2 separate regions of the Homo sapiens genome follow, and region 1 is linked to region 2. Evidence: promoter capture Hi-C in human tissues and cell types (Jung and others, 2019). All regions are on one chromosome and are shown on one strand. Each heading gives the region's core, a stretch centred on a gene start or on the middle of the fragment in contact. The rest is flanking DNA. Distances are from core to core; before and after follow the strand shown.

Region 1 (4,656 bases), core at 2,147-4,646, 37 kb after region 2:
TCGCACGGTCCCTGCAGGAGCCCTGCTCTCCAGCTGTGACCAGCTCTCCTCCAGATGTGTGGGCTATTGGTCATGCATGCCAAGATGAAGCGGGATGCTTAGACCCTCATGTCAGCCCACATCAGTGGAAGGGCCCTTAATCCCCCACCCAACAGCACCCTCCACTGGGGCTCCTGTGAGCCACATCTGTGTGTAGGCATGCTTGTTTGTGCTGAACTATGACTTTCAGACATCTAAACTGCAATTTCAAAATTGTTGTTGCAATTTCAAAATTAGGCAATTTCACATTAAAACCTGAAGGAAGTGTATTGGTCACCTCCCTGCCCCCAAGCTGTTGGTTCAGAGGCAGAGCTGCAGGCAGAAGGGCCAGGCTGCCTTGAACCCACATCTGGATGAGCTTGTAGGGGCAGTTTTGGACTCATGGATCCAAAGGAGCTCCAAGCCTGGCCCACAGCTGGCTTTTGTGTTAGCCTCTACCAATTCCCAGGCTCCTCTAGACATTCTTCTAGAGTAAGCAGGTCTCAAAAGGGAATCCCCCTCCCTGGTGGCACTGGAAGAGTACAGACAAGGACGGCTCTTCAGGAGCGGGAGTCAGGCACAGAGCACGTGATTTCACCAAGGACACATGCGTTCCTCCCAGAGAGCACCAGAAGCTGCCCTCCCTGGCAGCTTCCTCCACAGGGCACAGGGAGGTTCACCAAGCCCACCCGGCAGGACCTGTTGGGGGCCAGGCCTGCTCCCGCTGCGTGTTCCCATTTCTTCCAAACAGGAGTCTATTGTGCTGACGATGTTCTCTCCACTGCTCAGTACTGGGTGTGGGGGTACACAGCCTGCCTCTTGGTTTAAAGTTCACCAAAAGTTAAAAAGTCCACCCAAAGTTTAACATTTTGGTTTAAAATTCCAAGGAGTCACTTCAAGACCCAATGGTGAGGGCTGCGTATCACCAGGAGAGCCTGACCTTGGGGGCTGGATGCTGGGACAGGATGAGGCACCCAGGGCAGGGGTGAGAGTGCTCTGTGTGTGGGAAGATGGGTGCATGGCATTTGCAGGGAAAGGTTCATTACATGGTAGAGACTCCTAGTTGCACACCACATGTCCTTTCTTTCCTTGCTTGTAGAACCCCTGGTTTTTAGCTTGGTACATGGATAACAAACTAGAGCTATACTTCCCAGCCTCCCTTACAGCTAGGGGTAACCAGGTGTCTAAATTCTATGAGCAAGATCTCAAAAAACTACACCACAGCTTCCGGGGAACCTCCTCAAAGATAACTAGCATGTGCTCTTTGTCCTGCTTCCCACCTTCCTCCATCCTGCTGCCTGGATCACAGATATAATGGTGGGAGCTCTCGCCTGCGTTTTGCCTTCCTTGGGCATGTGGACAGCTCCCCTTCCCAGGGTGGTTAGTAAATCTTTAAGACCATCCCCTAGGTCTTCTCAATGCCTGCTGTGTACACAGATGCTAACTGCACTGGTCTTCGCTCTGCCCAGGTGAATTCTCCAGGTTCACAAGGAGTGTCCACAGATGCCCTTGCCTGAAAGGAGTCTCCAGTCCCCATGCATCCCCTTTCCCTCACTTTTTGCAAATCCTGGGGAAGGAGATGTCTCCCACAGCAGACCTTCTACTCTGGGAAGCCAGCCTAGCCTTGGGACATCCTCTCTTCCCTCCTGTTGAGGATGAGGCTTTGGGAGCCCTGTGCTTTCAGAACCCCTCCTCGTCCCTATGAGGGCAGGATGCCTCCTCACTCTCTGCATGGCCTCTTGGGCTTCCCTGCCTCAGTCTGATCAGCATCAAGGATCCGGCCATGCCCTGAGGATCTAAGCATAAATGAGAGCCAGCCCAGGCCCTGGGGAAACTCCCCTTCCTGTAAGCTCCTTAAGGAGGTGCAGTCACCACATTACCCTCTTAGAACTTGAAACAGCTTCTACCGCCCACAAGGGAGAATCCAAATTTCTAAACATGGCACCGTGGGCTCCATGGCCACCTCCTTCCCACCCTAGATCCCTGCGTGGACCTCACAGACAACCTCCTGCCCCTCCCTGATCCTGTGGACATCCCATCTCCTCATCATCACGCAGGCTGTGCCCAGGACAAGGCCCTTCTCCTCCTCTGTCTATGACAGCCCTCCCTGAGCTCCCTCATCCTCTGGCAGTACCAGCCCTGCCCTGGAGGACTCCTAACACCCTGAGCACGTGGCCTCCACAGCTTGCTCAGTGCAGATGTGGAATTGCACTCTTGTCAGGCCAGCCTCACACAGCACCTGAGCCCAGAGGTGCCCCCCAATCCCTGACCACCAGCCCCTGCTGCACAGCACATGACCCCAATGCCATTCCCAGACCACCGTGCTTTGGACAGTCAGCACTTGCAGCCCCTGGACCCCTGGTCTGGTCCCCTCCCCCATATCAGCACTCACTGAGGGTGGGGCCTGGGCCTCCTGAACAAGGCAAGCACAGTCCATGCTGGGTAATGGACTTTAGTGTGCTTCCCTTGGCCTGGGCAAAGTAGGGCTGGGATCTGTGGACCCAGTTCAGACAGGGGGCCTGGAGGTGTCCAGCTGGCTAATGGGAAGGGGAAAGGCCATGTCCTTATGAAGGGCAAAACCCAACTACTTTTGAGGCTTTGAGCTTCATGAATTGATGGGGGAGTGGGGGTAGGGTGAGGCTGGGACAAGGTAGGGCTTCTTCCCCCTTGCAAGGCTCCCTGCTCTGCCCTTCTCCCCTCCTTAGGCATCCCTGCAGATGGCCATAGTGCTCGCCCTGCACTATGTGCTGTGCTACTGGTCCCTGCAGGCTCAGGCTAGCCAGTGCCTTCAGAGCCCCGGGGAGGCCTTGGCCAGGTCTGGGTCAGGTTCAGATCAGCAAAGAAGAAGGGAGAGGCATGCCAGGAGGTGTATAGTAGTGCAGGGTGGTGGATGGAGGGTGGGACAGTGGTTTGGATGGCCGGAGAACAGATCCCCAGGCTTGTAAGCAGAGCTTGTGAGTGATCGGCTTGACCTCCAGCTTATGGGTGAGGGCATGCAGGATTTAGGTGGGGCTGGAAGAACATAATGATGTGATGCTATTAGCTAACCTTTGTTGAGCACCTACTATGTGCCAAATATCAATCTAAACATGCATATTGATGCATATAAGATAGGTATCATTGTCATGCCTCATTTACAGGTCAGGACCAGAGAAACCAAATATCTTGACCTTAGGCCATTTACAAGGTTTCTCTTGTAAACACGGATGATAATAATCATCCACTAAGTGGAGGGAGCTGGGTTTGATCTCAGGCATCCAACCCCAGTGCTCAGGTTCATCAACAAGGGCTATGAATGCCCAGCTCAGTCATGTGACTTCAGCCAGCAACAACAGGGAGTGCTGAAGGATCATGGAAGAGCTCAGTGTGGTCAGAGCAGAGTCTAGGATACCTGGCAGCTTGGGAAAGGCATGGGCCTGAAGGCCAGCCAAGCCGGGGCCATAGGCAGCTTGAATGCTGTACACCTCATTCCTGTTGGCCATACCTCAGGGTGAACTCTGAGAGCCCTGGCTTAGTAGCTGCCTTCACTAAGCGATCCTTAAAAACAGCCCCAAAGCCAGTGTGGAGTGGGCAGACTGCAGCTCCTGAGGCAGCCCACAGCATGCCTGCTCAGTCAGGAGGCTGAGAGCAGGCCTTGATGCAGGCTCGAGGCAGGAGAGTGGAGGCCTGGCACACTCCTTTTTAACTGGGCAATGCAAGGCTGGCAGCAGGAAAGAATGGCTCCCTGGGCATCACTGCCCTTGTCACCTCCAGGCAGGGGAGGCAGATTGTGAGGAGGCACTGAGGCCTTGCCATCATGTGCAGGCTCTGCAGGGCCCAGGAGCCCAGCGCTGCCCAACAGGAACCAGGTCCTGGCTCATTAGACAGGGTAAAATGGGAGCAGGACAACAGAGCGGGGAGCCAGGTGGCCTTGCAAATGAACTCCCTGCATATAAGTAGCTGATCAGTCAAATGCTGACAAGTTTATCATGTAAGGCAGAAAATGAGCACTACACCCAAGCTCATCCACCATGACTGTGGCCCAAATGTAATGGAAACATGGGACAACGGGCTGAAGGCGCACGGCAGGAGCCATTTGTCTTGTGGCATCCTCATCGAGCACATCGAGGCTCCTTTAAAGTGGCGAATCAATCTTCCTCAAGGAGCCCGGCGTAATAGTGAGAGGTGGGGATTGAGTAATAGGAGGAGCCTGCTCTGACACCCATGCCCAAGGAGGGAGCTGACAGCTTTGGTAGTGTGGAAATTCCAGAGGCCAGGAGGCCTCGGGGAGCCCTGAGGCTGGCATTAGAGGTTGGAAGCTTACAGGCTGAGACTCTGATGAGCACAGACAAAATAGCACCTGGTATCTCTCTCTGTGCAGGGCTGCAAGACTCAGGAGATGTTCTTTAATGTGCACTACTGTGCACAAGTACCCCCGGACATATACCACCCTCTTTGGGACACTTGCCTTTGCTTGCTCTGATCTATTCCCTGAGAAGTTAGCACAAGTCAGATTTCTATGCCATGCCCATCCCCCTTCTCACAGTCCAGGAGATGGATGAACTGGGATCTTTCTCAGGGGCTTAGACCTTCTTAACCTTTCCCAATCCTATCTCAGCATCTTTCCTCCCCTGATGAAGGAGTACTTTTTTCTTTTGG
Region 2 (4,895 bases), core at 896-3,395:
GTGTCTTTCTTCTTATAAGAAGAGACACCAGTGAGCTTGCTCCCCGCTCTCCCCATATAATCCCACCAGGTGAGGACAAAAGAGAAGGTGGCTGTCAGCAAGCCAGGAAGAGCGCCCAGAGCCCTCACCAGAAGCTGACCTTGCCAGACCTTGATCAGGGACTTTTAGCCTTTAGACTGAAAAAATATATTTCTATTGTTTAAGTCCCATAGTCTATGGTATTTTGTTTTGGCAATCCCAATAGACAAATACAAACATGGAGGTATTTGCAACAGAAATTTCTCTATCAACTGTTCTCTCACAGAAAGTAACTTCCTCTGCTGATTGAAATCCTACCCATCCTTCAAACTCAAACTCAAATGCCATCTCTTCCAGGAGGCTTTCCCTGATTGCTCAGCTAAAACTAATTTTTGTGTCCTTAGGCTTCAGGGTATTTTGCCTGGAAGACTCTTAGTTTGGGTCATAGGATGGGAGTTCATCAATGGTCATTCCTGGGCTCTCATCTCATTCTATATGTTCTCTCCAAGTCAATGACTCACATCTTTCTATCTCCATTTCAGACTTTTTCTCTGAACTCCAGAACAACAGAGCTGATTCAGCACCTCTGTCTAGGTAGCCGAAAGCACATGAAGCTTAATTCAGATGCTCCTTGACTTATGATGGGGCTAGGTCCCAATGAGCCCACTGTAAGTGGAAAGTGGGCTTAATACCTGGATAAGCCCATCATAAAGTGGAAAAATCGTTAAGTGGAACCATTGTAGGTTCAGATGTGCCTCAACTTAGGATAGGGTTACCTCCCAATAAACCCATGCTAAAGTCAAGAAGTCTAAGTTGGGGACTATCTGTATGACCAAAATAGACTGTTCCTTTGGAACGATTCCACATATTCCTCCAAATTTTGGTCCATCTTTGGTGTCTTTGATTTTAGTGGACAGTACATCCATCCATCAGCACTGTTTCAAGTCAGACACTGATTAGATCCGGATAACATTCTTTTTACCCTTACCTCCCACCTCCATCCTCTCAGGAAGTACCATTGCTTTCACTTTGATCCATGGTCTCCTTTATGGTCCAAGCTACTCTCATCTCAGCCCTGGACCACCCCAACAGACTTGTCTTCCTTGTTTCCACTCTTGCCCCCTCTAATCTGTTCTCCTCAGAGCAGCAACAGCTTCATCCCCTGCCTAAAACTTATCTGCGGCACTGCAGGATCTGGCCTGATTACCTCTCCAGCCTCATCCCCCATCAGTTTAACAAATATTAATACATCATTTATTGAATGCCTCCAGCCATTGCCTATATTATTAGTCCCTCTGCCTGGAAGGCATTCCTCTCTTTACCTGGTTAGTTTCTACTCATTCTTTAAAGGTCTACTTAAATGTGGGCTCATTTAAGGCTCCACTTAAATGAGCCTTTCCAGACCTCTCCCTCTCCCCTCCCATTATGGCTAGTCACAGGTCCCACTGTGGTTAGCTCCCATGGCACCACCTAGCCTCAGTCAGAGCTTAGGCACAGCTGTCATTTAGCAGTTAACAAGGAGATTACTTCAAGGACATTCATCACTGTTTAACAGTGTGTCCTCAGTCCCTGGAAGGGTGTCCAACACACACTGCGTGCTTAATAAAAGTCTGCTGCATGAACGATTAAGAGATGGAATACCAGCAACGCTACTTCCCAGCCATTTGAGTTGTGAAAGTCACTTAATATTCTTGATCCTCAGTTTCCCAATTCTTAAAGCAGGGTTATGTAATTTTTTCTATGGAGGTAATTTCTGTAATTTGCTGGGCACTGGGTGGGCCCACAGCTCACTCTTGGATAGAAGAGCCTTCCCACTCTTTTAGCCCAGCCCTGGAAGCCATAGGTTGCAACATCATCCTGGGGAAGACTTCCTGGAGAGGTGGCGCTTCGTGGGGGTCTGAGGAAGGCCTAGGCACAGGGCACCACCTGCACGGATGCTCAGAGGCTGGGGCCCTCAGGGGCGCACGCGGCGAGGAGGCCCACCTTGCAGGCCCTGCAGGCGGAAGGTGTGGTGCTCCACCGGTAGGCCTGCCGCGCTGTAGGGCCCATAGCGCAGGATGACCACTGCGTTCTTGGGCATCGCCAGGCCTCCGCCGCCGCAGAGGCAAGGGAGAAACACACGCTGCTAAGCAACCTCTCTTCCGGCCCGGGCGCGTGGGCGTCGCTACGCGCCGGGCGGGGCCGGGGTGGCGCTAGGGGATCCTCCCGGCCCCAAGCTGCTCACGTGACCCTCAGCGCCTGGTCCGCAAATACGCGCGTTTGAGCTGGTGTGGCAAGTGTTAGTGATAAATAACAGCAGCAGCCAGGCACAGTAAGTTCGTGTCAGGCGGCGTGCGAAGCATTTTCCCTGCGTTATCTGGTTGAATCAGTTTACCATCCCTAGGAAGTATTTTATGTTTTTTGTTTACAAAACCGAGGCTCTGGGAGGGCAAGTTGCGGTCCCAAGAGTGACAGGGGTGTAGTATGGATTGGAAACCCTTGCATTTCTTCTATTTTCTTGCCTCTTTTTGATTGATTGGGAGTATTCGTTCATCATTCTTCTTCCCCCACCTTCTTCCCCCGGCCCCTTCTGTCACCAGTTAGGCTATTTGGTGGAGCCAAAACTGAATTCGTCCAATTCCCTTTTATTTGCTCAGTTCTGCTCATTGGAATTTGGACATAAAAGACATCCACCACTTCTAGGCATGGCTCCTAAAAAGTCTCCTCCACACCTGCTGTCTCCCTCTTCTTATCGGTAGCCAGATACGGGATCCCAGGGAGGACCCGAGGCTCCCGGGGAGACAGACCCAAAACGTGGGAGGAACCTGGACCACTGAGTAGCTGCGCCGAATAGAGCCCCACCCATCTGCATTAGTTGGTGACCGAAGCCAGAAGGAAACATTTATTCCATAACCACTGAGATTTTGGGGGTTGTTTATTACAGAAATTAGCCCAACCTAACAATCGCAATACCCTTGCGATTACAGCATTTCTTTACTTTCTAAATATTCAATTGTAGTTGATATTTTTACCCTCCTTTTGAACAGTAAAGGATTTTAAAAACCCTTTCCCACTAATTCTCCCAACGTATGCTACTGTGTATTTTAATTCTCTCCACGTGTACAGTATGTTCTATGATACATATTTCTTTGATGAGAATTAGTTTATACACGATTGTTAAATAGAGGAATGATATCAGCAGAATTTTGACATTATTATGGGTCATACATAATTTCCCCCAGCACTTGAGTTTCGCACCATCGGACAAGAACCACTGAATTCACCAACACAGCTGAACCCAGCAGACTATGGAGGAAGGCAGGACTGTACATGATGTCATTATTCATCCTCTTGGCTCTATGTGGTTACCTGTCTTGTCTTAGAAGGACTTATTTTCTGGTTCTCTATAAACTTTGTACACGTCTTTAAAGGCAAAAATCCTCTACTCACTGTAGTGTTTTTATTAATTAGAAATTTAACGTTGTTTTAACTTTGCTAAAAGTTTTGTATGAATAGTTGTTTTCCGTTACTCTTCTGTTTTCAAGACCGCTTATGTTTCTTTATCTCTTGCTTTCTGTAGTTTTACTGTAACAGTAAAGGATTTAAAAAACCCTTTCCCACTAATTCTCTCAACGTATGCTACTGTATATTTTACCTCTCTTGGGATTTGTTGAGATTCTTGAAACTGAATTAAAGTCCTTCATCAGTTTTTGGAAAAGTTTGAGTCATTATTTCTTCACATATTGCTTTTGTTCCATTTTCTCATTCTCAGGGACTCCAGCTAGGTATATGTTAGACCTTCTCATTGTAATCTGCATGTGTCTTCTCTGTGCTTTTCTCTTTTTTCTTCTTCCATACTTCTTTTGGGGTTGTATGTATACACGTTTGTATGCATGCATTCATTCATTTTTACCTGTAATCCAGTCTACGAATTTTCTTTTTGGCTCTTAACTGAGAAGAAAAGCCAGGAATTTGATTGTTTATTCCAGTTATATATTTTTCAATTCTAGAATTTTAGTTTGTTCTCTTTTCAAATCTGCTGTGCCACTTTCAGTTTCTTCCCAAGTGTTTTAGGTTTGGCTTTATCTCCTTCATTGTAGTAAAGATAGGTATTTTATAGACTGTGTTTGAGAATTCCATTGTTTGGAGAACCCATGTGTTTGTCCTGCGGTTTATTATTTCCGCTGGTTTCTACGCATTTTATCTTGTCTCCTAGAGTTCTGGTTTATTTTAATTGTGTGCTGGACATTGTATTAAAAAAGTATTTGTAGAAACAATTTGAGGCCTAAGATAGTATCTTCCCCTATAGAAGATTTTAAAATTTACTTCTTGTTAACTCCTACTTGTACCAACCCAGGATCATCTTCATACAGTTTCAGAGTTTGAGATTTTTCTGAGCCATCCAGATGACTCAAAACTGGGCTACAGTCCATTTGGAGATTGGTTGATTTATATTTAATCCTAATTCCTGTGGTGCAGTCCTTTGGGATCCTAACTTAAGGAGGGTGGTGACTTATCAGGGTTTCCCCATCCTTGGTGGTGCCGGACTCCAGTTCTTGTACCCTCTACATCTGCAAGGACTGAAAAAATGCAGGTCATTCTCTAGACCGCCTATTCAAGAGCACTAGATAGCCCTGGGGTAAGAGAAGCCCCAATGCTATGCTTAATTACTCTTGCTCTCTCTCTAATTTTCATTCAGTAAGCTCTTTTATGCTTTTTTAAAAGATATATGCCAGATTTTAAAAGATCTCATCTTCAAGAAGCCTAGTTCAAATTAACTAGCCTGCCATATGGAAGCAGAAGTTTTGTTGAGAGTTTGACTTAAGTTGCATTGAATCTATAGATCAATTTGAGTGAACCGACTTCTTTCTGAGGCCCTCCTATTTGTGAACTTGGAA

What was found. The method cuts DNA at HindIII sites, captures the fragments that hold promoters and counts their contacts. A contact is called where the count stands out against the background at its distance.
Region 1: a fragment that was not itself captured here is called in contact with the fragment with the promoter of C10orf53 in region 2 in 2 of the 25 tissues and cell types used here (small bowel and stomach).

Annotation. Positions count from the first base shown.
Region 1 is chr10:49,641,630-49,646,285 of GRCh38, reverse strand. All of the region lies in intron 7 of CHAT (choline O-acetyltransferase), which reads right to left. Among named protein-coding and RNA genes, the nearest start is that of CHAT, 30 kb to the right of the region's middle. The HindIII fragment of the contact is 6,718 bases long and covers 38-4,656 here.
Region 2 is chr10:49,676,901-49,681,795 of GRCh38, reverse strand. C10orf53 (chromosome 10 open reading frame 53) reads right to left here and starts at 2,145. Exons shown (of 3, transcript NM_001042427.3): 1 at 2,002-2,145. The coding sequence starts at 2,098. The HindIII fragment of the contact is 11,001 bases long and covers 1-4,895 here.